Linked DNA regions of Homo sapiens: all the other regions are linked to region 4. Evidence: promoter capture Hi-C in 16 types of primary human blood cells and fetal thymus (Javierre and others, 2016). All regions are on one chromosome and are shown on one strand. The core of a region is centred on a gene start or on the middle of the fragment in contact, and the rest is flanking DNA. Distances in the headings are between cores, read along the strand shown.

Region 1 (3,223 bases), core at 567-3,066, 1.1 Mb before region 4:
ACACATACTCCTACAGACGCACTTCCTGCTTCAAATTTAAAATCCTGTGTTGGATGTAGCATAGCAGTGAGATTATTTTAGTTTAGTGGAAATAATCCATTAGGTAATACTGAGCATGTTCACAGATGGATTTAAGGGGAGTCCTTCCCTTTGGTTGTCTTCTTTTCCTCTGGTGCATCCCTTCTGGAGGGAATTGTACACATGACTGATACTTGAGCAGGAGACAGAGGTGGTCTGCATCCGTTGGGTTATGTTAGGGTAATTTATTCAGAAACAGTCTTAAAGTCACAAAGCCTTTCAGTTGATCTCAGTTTTATAGCTTTCTACTCAACAGGTCTATCCAGGAAAATGGTGAACTAAAAATTGAAAGCAAGATTGAAGAGGTTAGTCTTTTTTCTATTTTTGTATCTATTTCATCTGTATACTTGTCAATTTTACTTCCTTTGCTCGTGCTGTCATTCTTATTGTGGCAGCTTGATGCTGTTCTGTGATTTTGCAACCGTGTCTCAAAAAATTACTCCCTTATTTAAGAGGACATGCAGTCTGTTACTGTTGGTCCATTTTTGATGTATTAAAACAAATTCTACCTCAAAGGCAAAATGGATTTAGACTTTTACATGACTTTTCAGGTAAGCGTTTTTTAGAGAAAGGGAAGTGATTGCCTTTGGGAGATAGAGATGAGTACAAACATCCTCTCACTGGCACAGGTGCTGAAAAGAACAATGGCCACCAATCGGATGCTAGGCCACGTGCACAGATGGAGACGTTGCACACCCACCCAGCTGAAGGCTAGCACCTATGCTCAGTTATGCACCTCCTATTTAAATACATGTAGATACAGCCAGACCGTTGTAACATGGGCTGTGGGGGAGGGGATGGGAGGTTACTTACTTTGGATTTGAAGCCAACTTAGGGAGTCCTGGGAAGCCCTTGAGTTGCTGTCTTTCTGCCTGAGTCCACAGTGTCTACAGACGTGGATGTAGGTTGACTCACAGCCTGCAATTTATGTGCTGCAGCTGATAACATGAGTATACACAGTAATTGCAGAAACAAGATGTTAAGCTTTTGTGGGCCATGCTTAGGGGATTGTTCCTAAAAAGAGATGGATAGTGTTGATCTGTTTTTATGAGCCTGAAACACCTTTTACATTCTTCCTAGTAGGATGGGTGAGCAAAAACATTAATTGTCTCAGAAACCGAGGCATTTATGGAGTAAGAGTTCAAATGGACAGTTTATCTGTTCAATTCTAGCATTGTGATGCAAGTGGTGTATCTTAATTTCAAACTGGAAGTTAATTTGTAGAAGAAATTAAAACCTGTTTTGCCTTATCTGAAACATCAGAATGGGGTGAAAGGGGTTGAGAACTGTGTTTTTGCTTTAAAACTGATTTTTGTTATTATTGTTCTAGATGGTTGAACCACTAAGAGAGAAAATCAGAGATTTAGAAAAAAGGTATGTGTACTTTTTGTCTTAAAGTCAATAGTTAAAATAAGTTTGTCTCAATTGAGTAATTAATTCTGTTTGTTTGCTCCAAACTCTGCCAACCTAAATAAATGTCTGTATACGCATTTCCCCCACTTTGAGTGTAATACCCAGATAGAACATGGGGAGAAGAATCAATCTAGATGTGTTAAGATCTTCCTTCTTCAAACTCTGAACGTCTGAATTTCTGCAAATTTATTACATAGAAGTTGAGGCCAGGCCTCACATTTTCCTTGAACTTCTGCATATATTGATCAGTGGGATAGAATTCCAAAATAGGAGGACAATCCAGTGGGCCTGAAATGTACCATATGCAAACACCACAAAATAAGGATGTGGAGCCTATGGTGTGTCATGTGTAGTCATTTAGCTGCTTTTGTCACCAGAGTTCATGAGGAGGTTTCCAGAATTTAGTCCAGGTGAAGTGAGAGGGCAGAAGAATTATGTAATATGATAGAAATGTTTATTTGAGTCAGATTTCGGAGAGAACCCCTCCTCACCCTTTGGGACACTATTGCCCTCAGGTTCTCTCTCAGGCACTCCCGAGGCCGCTGAGCCTCAGCCTCCAGGACTTTCCTCTTGCACGTACTGTATGTGGAAAACTATCTAGAGTAGCAGTTGAATCTTCAGAAATTTTAGAAAGAAAAATGACAGCATTTATTAAAGTTGATGTGATTTTTTCCCCTTATTGGGATGAGTTTGGACGATGTGTGTCAGCATTGAATGAGCCTTTTATCAAGTCCAGAACAAAAATGAAAAAATGAAGAGCAGTTTTCCTTTGATTTTCATTAAATGATCGAAGGGAAATACGACTGGAGAAGAGTCATTAAACAAAATGTGTCATTCACTTGATTCTTATCCTCAACTGAGCAGTCAAGCAAACTGTTAATTTCAGCACTTATCAGAACAAAAGTTGTCAGTAATTTTTAACAGATTCCTTAGTAATATAAGGTTGTTACTTGTGCTTTAAATTTTTTTTGCCATGATTCTGTGCTTTAGTTATGCAGCTTGTAATATTTCCTTGGATGGGAGCCAGAAAATCTGCCTTTGATAAGACAGCAGAATTGAGAGATCTTAATTGAAGCTTTTTTTTTCTTTTTAGAAAAATTGGAACAATAAGAAATAACCCACCACACATTTTCTATATTGGTCTAAAAACTTGTCCACCAGTGATTATTTTCTTTAGACAATAGAATTTATTTATGAAAAGAAAAATGTCTCAATTCGATAACTTCCCTAAGGCAATAGCTTACAAACAAGAGCTCTCAACATGTGAGAATTATGCAATCTCTTTGATACTTTTGTGATATCTTTGAGTGTGTGCTTTTAAACTGGATGGAGAAGCACAAATAAGAATTCAATCCTAAGAATTTACTAATAATTTATTCTTGTCAACCTGTGAAACCGCCTTGAAAATAGTGGCAAAGGGCAAACATTTGCCTCTCGGGCTGCTTGCAGGTGACTCATTCTGGAATGGTTCCGTCCTTCAGGTTGGTCAGCAAGTCAGGTGATCCGCGTGCCTGCATTACTGTGTCAGAAGGTCAAGCGTAGGCCTGGCTAAAAAAGCGTGACGGTGGAAATTGATGGAACTCCGTCTAGCTTACTTTTCCTGACTCAGTGTGTGATAAAGATGATCAAACAACCATCTTGACACTGACAAGATAAGAATGTAACTGGAAATAGGTTTACTTGACGTGCTTGTCACTTTGAGCAAAGTGGCCCCCAAGAACTAAAGATATTT
Region 2 (3,061 bases), core at 230-2,729, 1.2 Mb before region 4:
GAGAAAGTGTATGGATACCATTTCTTGTTTTTAAAGGCCACCCTGCCTGCCTAAAATAATTGAAAAAATTAAATTGCTAGACTGGCATTAGGAGAATGAACACACTGAAAAGGATACAAGGCTCACGTGGGTAGGTTTCAAATACTGGCTCTCACATGGGAGAGACGTGAAATGGAGGAATACACCAGTGACTAGGAAGACATTTGGGGAAATTAAAAATTTTAAAGTATTTTCAAGAATGAAGAGAAAAAATAAAGATGTAATATTGGAGAGGTCATGAAAAGGAAAATCATCAAAGGGAAAGGACCAGGGCAAAGGTCACAATGTGAAAATTTACCTCTAAGAAGACATGAATATATGTGAATGAAACTGGTACATATATGAGAAATAATAACATTATATATGGAATTTTTCTCCCAATGGCTTCTCATAGTTTTCTAAAAATATTATTCATTCAAGGTCATCTGCATTCGACATTATCAAAGTTCTGTCCCTCACTGACCAGTCACCTCCTGCACTGAGCCTATCTGTCTGCAGCTCACCTGGATTTGGGCTCTGGGGAAATCCTTCCTTCCCTCCACAGCACTGCTCCTTGTTTCAACTGGGAAATCATGAATGACTTGCAGAGCTGATGCTCTCTGGGCAAAGTTGCATGGATTTTGAATTCTGTGTGAGAACTGTGCGTGATCTTCAGATCTAAGGCAGGCTCCCAACAAGACAAGGCGAGCATGGAAGGGCACCCGGGGAAGAGCACCTTGAACACCAAGGACATTGAGGGCCCTTCCCTGGAGCAGGAAGGAAAACCCCTGACACCAAGCCCCTGAGTCTCAGCAGCAGTGAAGATTTAAATGTTTCCACAGTGGGTTGTGGAATTTATTCTCATAATTAATGCAATAAAATTAAGATCCATTGGAACAATCTAGGTTCTATTTGGAAAAGAAAATGGCTATATTTTTATTACTATGGTCTCAAACCCTAGCTTAGTGCTTAAAACAGTATTGTCACTTAGTAAAAAATTTAATCCATTTATTTATTCAAAAAAATAGTCATTGAGGTCCCAGCACTGTTCTCAATATTGGAGATGGAGTAGTAATAAAGACACAAAACTGTGGTCAGGAAGACGTGTTCTAGTGGTTGATAAACTAGATTTAAGTAAACAAACAATGTTCAGGCAGTTGTAAGTGCTGTGAAAGAAAACAGATGAGGATAGAGACAAAGTAGCGTACGTGGAAGCTGCCTGGCCTGACAGGCTGAGCACCTGGTGAAACCCTACCTCCATACCCGACCTTCAGCACCTGCTGTCACACATCCCTGTCACCTGTGGTCACCACACACCTAAGACCCCTGCAGCCACTGACATGGTTAACTGAGTGACTCATTTCCCTATCACGGCAATGGATGGATGAGAAAATGACAACCCTTCACTTATGTTCCCTGAAAGGACATCCTCAATGGAGAATGAAAAAATTAATGTACATGTTGGGAAGGACATGATCTCATGATCAGTTCTTCACCTGCTATGAGGATTCCAGAGTTCTGGAAAAACAGAACTTGCATGAACACTTCCCGGACGCCCTTACTAATATAAGATCCAGGCCAAGAGGAGAAATGTGCTCGTCTGCTGGCAAAGGGTAATCAACTCAGGAGAAAAAGCAAGTCCCCACGCACCCGTGGGTTCCTTGTCAGGAACTCGGCTGCCACCTGTCTTCCTCCACATTCTCCCTCAGGATAGTCTGAAAACTAAGCAGACAAAGCTGAAGAAGGATAAAGAAACCATGAGACCCTGGTCTTATTCACCCCTTCATGGACCTCCAAGCCTTCATCTGGGAGTGAGTGACACCAGCTCCAACCCACATGTACCTGCAGGGTGATCTAAGACAAACAGGAGGAACCCTTTTTTCCCAGATCACAAGGAAGAAGGCTTTGGCTACAGCAACTCATAAGGAACATGTGAAAATCCTCATTTTATAGAAAAATAAGAGGACAATTATAGTGTTGTATGCTTTGCTTAGACCTGGTTTTCAGGGATATCATATAATTCCCTCCCTGATGGCAACTCCTAGGAGGACCTGACTCATGTCACATGGTGATTCTTCTTTGCACAACCAAGAACAAAACTTTGTGACTTAATACTTCTTGGTTAGGTGCATTAGCATTCTTTCCCTAACACTCACCCAGCCCTGCAGAACAACAACCTCCCTGCTGTGCCCTGCCCTCATCCTCCCTGTCCTGTCCCACCCTACCCCCTTCCTCTCCATCCTGCCCTGTCCCCCACCCCCACGCTCCCCCTGCCCCCACCCTCCAATGCACTTGCCCTCAATCATCTTGAGTCTGCAATGTCTGGGTTCAGGCAGCACCAGAGCCTCAATCCTAGCTCCATGCCCCAAGGCCTGAACATGCAGCCAAGCACCTTTGGAATCTGTTTAACAGTGGACAAAACTCATCCCCTGTTCAAAGCCTCATCCCCTATTGGAGGGTTCAGTGGCTCACCATGTTTAGCAACAAAATCTCTTTTACCAAAAAGAAGCGGGCGTGAGCCCTTTCTAATGCTACTGCTGTGTCTCACAGTCACCCTAAGGCAGTGGATCTCATAGAACACAGAAGGAAGGAGCTTAGTTTTGGGGGACAATTGACTCCTTTGGAAATCTTAGTGAAATGGTAGCTGGAGTTTTGCCTTAGTAATTAGCATTGGCAGGAACACCTCAGCATTTCATAATTTATGTATTTGAAAGCATTTGTCAATAGTAGACTATTTTCTAGAACAATGTTAATAATTGGATGTATTGCATGGATGGATAGTGATAATGAGTAATGAACAGGGTAAGAAGACAACTCCTTGAGTGAGGTCCCCAAAAGAGAAAAAAATTCCCATAGCATGAGCTGAGAGTCTGCGAATCACTTACTTGCATTTGCTTATTTAATCCTCACAATAATTGTGCTATTTATGGATCAGCTGTCCGTATAACAAGTGATGTGAAGTTAAGTTCTAAAAGCTTAATGAATGTGACCAAGTCACATGCTACAAAATGACAGAGCTAGAATTTAAACCAAGCTCTGCCTA
Region 3 (2,982 bases), core at 183-2,682, 1.5 Mb before region 4:
AAAACCTACACTGTATCGATAACTTAGTTTACAGTTTACACAGATACTTTCACATTCTTTCTTTATCTGAATTCAAATCTGCCCATACACTTGTCTCTCCGTCAAGCCTAATATTTAAAGGTCAATTTACAAACAGCGTGTGTAATCTTATGAATTCTTGCCACATGGTGCCATCTGAGTCCATCTCCCAATCATCTTTGAAAATCTAAGAGAAATTCCAGATTGTTTGACTTTTAGTCTGATAATAGATGATCTCTAAACAGTTTACAACATAGTCATTTTGAGATTGAAAATATCAATCTCATTTTTTTGTTTCACAATGGCTGCTGCCTTAAAAACCAATCCAGTTTGCTGTATTTATTGTCTTATTTGCTATAAATCTAGAGCCAATTATAGCAGTTTCTCATACATTGCCCATAAAAAATGCTATACTATTTCAGCTTTTCAAGTGATGGATACTCTCATAAGAAAATTAGAAAGCTTCCAACAATGGGTCTCATAGATGACTACTACTTTGTCCTCATTTCCAAATGACACAGTCATCTAAGGAATTAAAGGAACTGGAAGTGGAGTGAGTTTTTATGTGCATGATGAAGAATGTTACTTTCAAAGTACAGATGCAACCCAACTTACACAATGGGGTTACATCCCGATAAACCCATGGTTAAGTTGAAACTATCCAAGTCAAAAATGCATTTAACACACCTAACCTATAGAATATCATAGCTTAGCCTAGCCCACCTTAAACATGCTCAGAACACGTACATTAGCCTACAGTGAGGTAACATCATCTGAAATCATAGCACCCTGTACATTATCAGCTATTTGCCCTCATGATCATATAGCTGACTGGGACATCTGGCTCATTGCCCTGCCCACCATTCTGAGTATTGTTCCACATATCCCTAGCCCCAGAAAAGATGGAAATTACAAATTTGAAGTACTATTTTTACTAAATGCATATTGCTTTTGCACCATCATAAAGTCAAAAAAGCCTAAATTGAACCACTGTAACCGTCTGTAGTTGGTAGCTGATTGGCGAGGCAAGACAACAAAGACATATGTCTAAATAAACATGATGTTTTCTGAAGCGTTCCTATCTATCTTTTCAAAATATTTAGCAAAGCATCATATATGCATTAAACACTCTGCTGGATGCTGAGAAAACAAAGAGAAAAAGTCTTGGCTTTTGCTGTCAAACAGGGAAGTTGTTTCAGAAAGGGAAATGCACGTGCAAAGTGACATAGGAATGAAATCGCGATCTTCAAATCAGACTTCCATTCTGCTGGGGGGTAAAGAGGAGGGCAGGAGTAGTAAAGATGAGGCCAAGCAGGTGGGCAGGAGATTGGGAAAGTCAATCCCGTGTGCCCTGGGACGAGCCTGGTTGATATGCTCCTGGCGCTGAGCGGCCACAGAATATGTGCGAGAGTGGCCAGCTTTTTACCTGAGAAAGTCACCGTAACTACGATGTGGAGTGAAGCAAGATGCTTGGTGTATGCCCATTGTATGTCCAGAGGATAAGTGGCACGAAGGTGGGAGAGAGACATGGGACCTGTGAGGCATATCAGGCAGGCTGGAGGGACAATCAGATTCGTAGATTCAGAAAGAGCCAAATCCAGGATAAGGCTCAGGTTTCTGACTTGGGTAAGAGGTGCATGGTGAGGTGCTTCGTAGAAATGGAGAGAGGAGAAGGAGCCGGTTAAGGACAAGTCAATGTGTTCAGCCCTTGCCACCCTGAGCTACACATGCCCCAGGGGCTTTTGAGTCCATGACATCCATGACACGCGGGGGCTCAGGAGAAATGTCTACGTGGAAAATGTAGAACCTCCCTCTGTAGAAAGAGGAGAGGAGAGAGGGCTGAAGACACAGCCCATCGTTCACAGGTGCCCACAAAGGAAACTGAGTGAGGGACACCCTAGGAAGAGGAGGAGGTCATGGACTAAACCTTGCCAATCATGCTGCAAACACCACATGCCCATCATCAGGCTTCACCCATCATCCGTGAATGAACCAATCTTTTTCTCTTACACTTCAATCCACTTTTTCTTCCCCAGATTGGAAATAACTCCCAGACATCAGAGCTTTTGAGAGGTGAGGCCAGCTGGACTTCCTGGGTCCAGTGGGGACTTGGGGAACTTTACTGTCTTACAAGAGGATTGTAAAACGCACCAGTAAGTGCTGAGTAAAATGCACCAATCAGCGCTCTGTAAAATGCACGAATCAGCAGGATTCTAAAAGTAGCCAATCCTAGGGAGGATTGAAAAAAGGGCACTCTGATAGAAGGGAAATGGAACATGGGAGGGGACAATAAGGGGATAAAAGCTGGCCACCCCAGCCAGCAGTGGCAACGTGCTAGGGTCCCCTTCCATGCTGTGGAAGCTTTGTCCTTTCGCTCTTCACAATAAACCTTGCTACCACTGACTCTTTGGGTCCATGCCATCTTTAAGAGCTGTAACACTCGAAGGTCCACGGCTTCATTCTTGAAGTCTGCCAGACCACCAACCCACCAGCAGGAACCAGCTCCGGACACACTTTCATCTCTAAACGCAGGCGTGTGCGGCTCCAGAAGACAGGACTCTCTTTTAAAAAACACAACCTTAGGCCGGGCGCGGAGGCTCACGCCTGTAATCCTAGCACTTGCGGAGGCCGAGGCAGGTGAATCATGAGGTCAGCTTGGCCAACATGGTGAAACCCTATCTCTACTAAAAACACAAAAAAATTATCTGGGCATAGTGGCGGGCACCTGTAATCCCAGCTCTTCAGGAGGCTGAGGCAGGGGTATCGTTTGAACCCAGGAGGCAGAGGTTGCAATGAGGCAAGATCACGCCACTGGACTCCAGCCCAGGCGACAGTGCGAGACTCTGTCTCAAAAAAAAAAAAAAAAAAAAAAAAAAAACTTAGTTTCGCTCCGTTTTGTGGCCCTTTTGTCATATTTTCATCATCTCAAGGGACTTCTTTTGCGCGTATGGTCTATTTTCTTAT
Region 4 (3,195 bases), core at 219-2,718:
CATGATTATAAGAACATGGAAAAAACATAGAAGAATAGATACCAGGAGGGACAGAAAGTTAGCCATCCCCCAATACATACATTAAATGTCAACAATAAAAATACTCTGTATGATATAGTCCCTCTCATAATCATGCGTATGTAGCAAAGATATACTCAAAGAGATGCATGAAAAAATAAAAATTTCTAGCACATTTTCCAGTAAGAAAAAAAAAAAAAACAAATGTCCACATGAATAGATAGAATGGACTGGTTGATCTAGATTAAAATATAAAGGAAAGAACATACAAAAAGATGTTTTTTTTTTTAAATATAGTTTTTAAAGTATGGTATTTGACTTTCCTGCAATAATTGGTACTTGTTATCACTCTCCCTCCTTGAAACATTCACCTGTTTTCCATGACACCACACTGGCTGGTTTCTCTCCTGCTTCTTTGGTCCCTCATTCTCAATCTCTTGAGGCCTCTTATTTCTTATTTGTCCTTCAGGGCCCTGTCCCTCTGCCTACTCCTCAGTACACTCTCCCTAGGTAATTTAATTTGTTTACAAGGCCTCAGTTACCATTTACAAGGTAACAGGGCATTTCGAAATCAGTTCTCCTCCTGAGCTATACACTTGACTATCCGTAGACCTACTGGAAATCCCAGATGCCTAAAAACATAATCCCATACTAAACTCGTTTCTTCCCTCTCAAATCTTTTTCCTGCTCTGAGATCGCATGTCAGTAAACTGGCATCATCAGCCATCCAGCTGTTGACTCCCCACTTCTCCCTGGATTAAACGAAACGTACAAGTTCTGGCCTGCATCTTTCCATAGAGGGGGATTCGGGAAAATTAAGAAGCCAGAAATTGCGCATATTGAAGGCACTTTCAAAAAGTCACTGTCCTCTACACAACGTGACTTTCTCCATTGTCTTCCAGGCACCTGCAGGAATCCAATTCCCATCATTCTTCTCTGGCGCGGCCCTCCTCCTCCCTAGACAGCAGGGCAGGGTAGGACTGGACCCAACACAGACCTAGGCACCGACCCTTACTTAGCTCAGCAGCCAAATGAAGGAGGAGGTCGCTCCACTTCTACCTTCAGGTAAGTTCCCCTCGCTGCACCCCGCAAAAAAACAAGTAACAACCTCTAGAGCGGCTACTGCACGCCAATACCCACCTCCTCCCCCCCAACCTCAGACCTCCACTAAATACCTAAGATCCTAGAGTCCCTGCCTGAAGGCACGCGAGACGCTGGGGGAAGGTGTCCGCGCTGGCTCCACATCCTCGCGCGGCAGAGGTAAGCCGCTTCCAGTCTTCCCAGGCCTTACCTGGGATCTGACATTTGTTTGCAACTCAGGGGCCGCGGTTTTCCAGAGGCCTTGCTTCCGGGCGAGGCTACCCCTACCCCAGAGAAGAAGCCGGTACGAAACTGCTCCGCCGTAGGACACACAGGGCGCCGCCATGTTAGCTGTGGGAGCTCCAGGACCGGAGGGGTGAGGGGGCGGGGCCTAGAGACGGCGCAGGCGCTAATGGCGCGGGGTTCCAGAGGCTGTCCTGTGCAAGAGCTTCTCGGGCCTTTGGATCAGGGGGCGTGTCCCGCGATCCGCGACAGCTCGTCGCTGATTGGGTGCATGGTGTCCGCGGGGCGTATCCGACTCCACCCCTGCTCGGTGTCGACCTCAAGAAGGATCGCTGGTGGGTCGTTTTTCTCGGCCTCTTTCTCTTCACGTCCTGAACTCAGTCTCTTCGGGACTCACTTCCACGCTCTCCTAGTCTCTTTGGCACTCACATCCACGTGGCGCTTTAGCCAGCCCTTCCTTCCCAGCCCCCTTGCTGCACCTCGAGCCGGCTCTTCCTCCACCTGGGCAGGGCGGCCGGGGCCCCAGATGCGCTCCAAGCCTTGATTCCTGTCTGCCTTATCCTAGTAGGGGTTTTCCCCTCCTCTAACTTTCCACGTTCGTCTGGTTCCAAGTCAAGACTCTCCTGCAGCAACTGTCAAGCCCCTCTCGGTTCCCTGGCACTCTCCTGCGTTGTTTCTTAACTGTATAATGCACAGGATAAACCTTAAACCGGTAAGGTCAAACACTACCTTTCTCGTTTTTGCACGCCCCTCCCTAAGCGTTGGTACTAAGCCTTACTTGAAACCCAATCAGAACTGATTAATTGTTGAATAGAGATGAGTATGTCTTGCTTTCTGAAACTTGCGTGCTCCTGGCAGTTAACTCCCAGGTTGCTTTCTACGAAACACATACTAAATGATGTAGTAACGCACTTTAAAAGGGTTTACACACACTTAGATTTGAAGGGTCAGTAAAAGTAAAACACACAGAAAATCTGAGATCATACAAAGTTGTCAAGCAAATAAATGCCGTCTACTATCACCATCATTTCACGAAACAGAACTTTTTAGCATTAAAAAGGTAGAATGGCAGAATTTCACAATAAAGAAAAATCTTTTAAATGGAATACATTTACTTGTATAAAATGCTCATCCTGTTGTTCTTTTTGTTATTAGCTTTTAGACTAGCAAAAGATATCTTGAGAAATTGGCAGAGGTCGGAGGACTAAACTCTGATTTTTTTATCTTGCCCAAGATTCCTATCTACAGGATTTGGGGAGTCATGCCCTACAAATCATAAATTCTTATTAGATGGGTTTTACTTAACCCTATATATGGTGACTTACTTTCCAACCTGACTCTGGCATAACATTACAAGACAAGGAAGAAAATCAAAATATTTTACCCCAAAACATGTTTCTTTGCCATATCTTGAAATGGCCCTGCAAAGCTGTCCTTGGAGGGGTGGGATATGCATCTGTAAAGAATCTGTATTAACATAGCTAGATCTTTTTCTTCCAGACCCTCCCAATCCTAAAGAGATTAACTAAGATCTGAATAGGAAACATTTGTCATCCATTGTCTCTAAGGGCAGCCACTGTAAGACTTACAGAGAACTTTGGTCTCCACAATCTTTATCTTAAACTGAACATTCCCTTTCTATCAGTCCCAGGTCTTTCTGGACCAAACCAATGTATTTCTTAAATGTGTTTGATTGATGTCTCATGCCTCCCTAAAATGTATAAAATCAAGTTGCGCCCTGACCACCTTGGGCACAAATTCTCAGGACCTGCTGAGGACTGTGTCATGGGCCATGATCACTCATATTTGTCTCAGAATAAATCTCTTCAAAATATTTTACAGAGTTCGACTCTT

Evidence for each region. The method cuts DNA at HindIII sites, captures the fragments that hold promoters and counts their contacts. A CHiCAGO score of 5 or more calls a contact.
Region 1: a contact is called between a fragment that was not itself captured here and the fragment with the promoter of MRPS9 in region 4, in 1 of 17 cell types (total CD8 T cells). The highest score is 5.3, in total CD8 T cells.
Region 2: a contact is called between a fragment that was not itself captured here and the fragment with the promoter of MRPS9 in region 4, in 1 of 17 cell types (naive CD8 T cells). The highest score is 5.0, in naive CD8 T cells.
Region 3: a fragment that was not itself captured here is called in contact with the fragment with the promoter of MRPS9 in region 4 in 1 of 17 cell types (activated CD4 T cells); the score reaches 5.1 in activated CD4 T cells.

Annotation. Positions count from the first base shown.
Region 1 is chr2:106,161,896-106,165,118 of GRCh38, reverse strand. It overlaps UXS1 (UDP-glucuronate decarboxylase 1), which reads left to right. Exons shown (of 15, transcript NM_001253875.2): 3 at 320-383; 4 at 1,409-1,452. Among named protein-coding and RNA genes, the nearest start is that of UXS1, 31 kb to the left of the region's middle. RefSeq lists an enhancer at 1-48. The HindIII fragment of the contact is 1,504 bases long and covers 1,065-2,568 here.
Region 2 is chr2:106,203,835-106,206,895 of GRCh38, reverse strand. No RefSeq gene overlaps it. Among named protein-coding and RNA genes, the nearest start is that of UXS1, 11 kb to the right of the region's middle. The HindIII fragment of the contact is 3,032 bases long and covers 1-2,995 here.
Region 3 is chr2:106,576,693-106,579,674 of GRCh38, reverse strand. No RefSeq gene overlaps it. Among named protein-coding and RNA genes, the nearest start is that of CD8B2, 91 kb to the right of the region's middle. The HindIII fragment of the contact is 1,899 bases long and covers 483-2,381 here.
Region 4 is chr2:105,036,342-105,039,536 of GRCh38, reverse strand. MRPS9 (mitochondrial ribosomal protein S9) reads right to left here and starts at 1,468. Exons shown (of 11, transcript NM_182640.3): 1 at 1,310-1,468. The coding sequence starts at 1,444. It overlaps MRPS9-AS2 (MRPS9 antisense RNA 2), which reads left to right and starts at 1,041. Exons shown (of 3, transcript NR_110603.1): 1 at 1,041-1,083. RefSeq lists enhancers at 486-1,428, 1,182-1,511, 1,682-1,731, 1,782-1,831, 1,852-2,061. The HindIII fragment of the contact is 6,591 bases long and covers 1-3,195 here.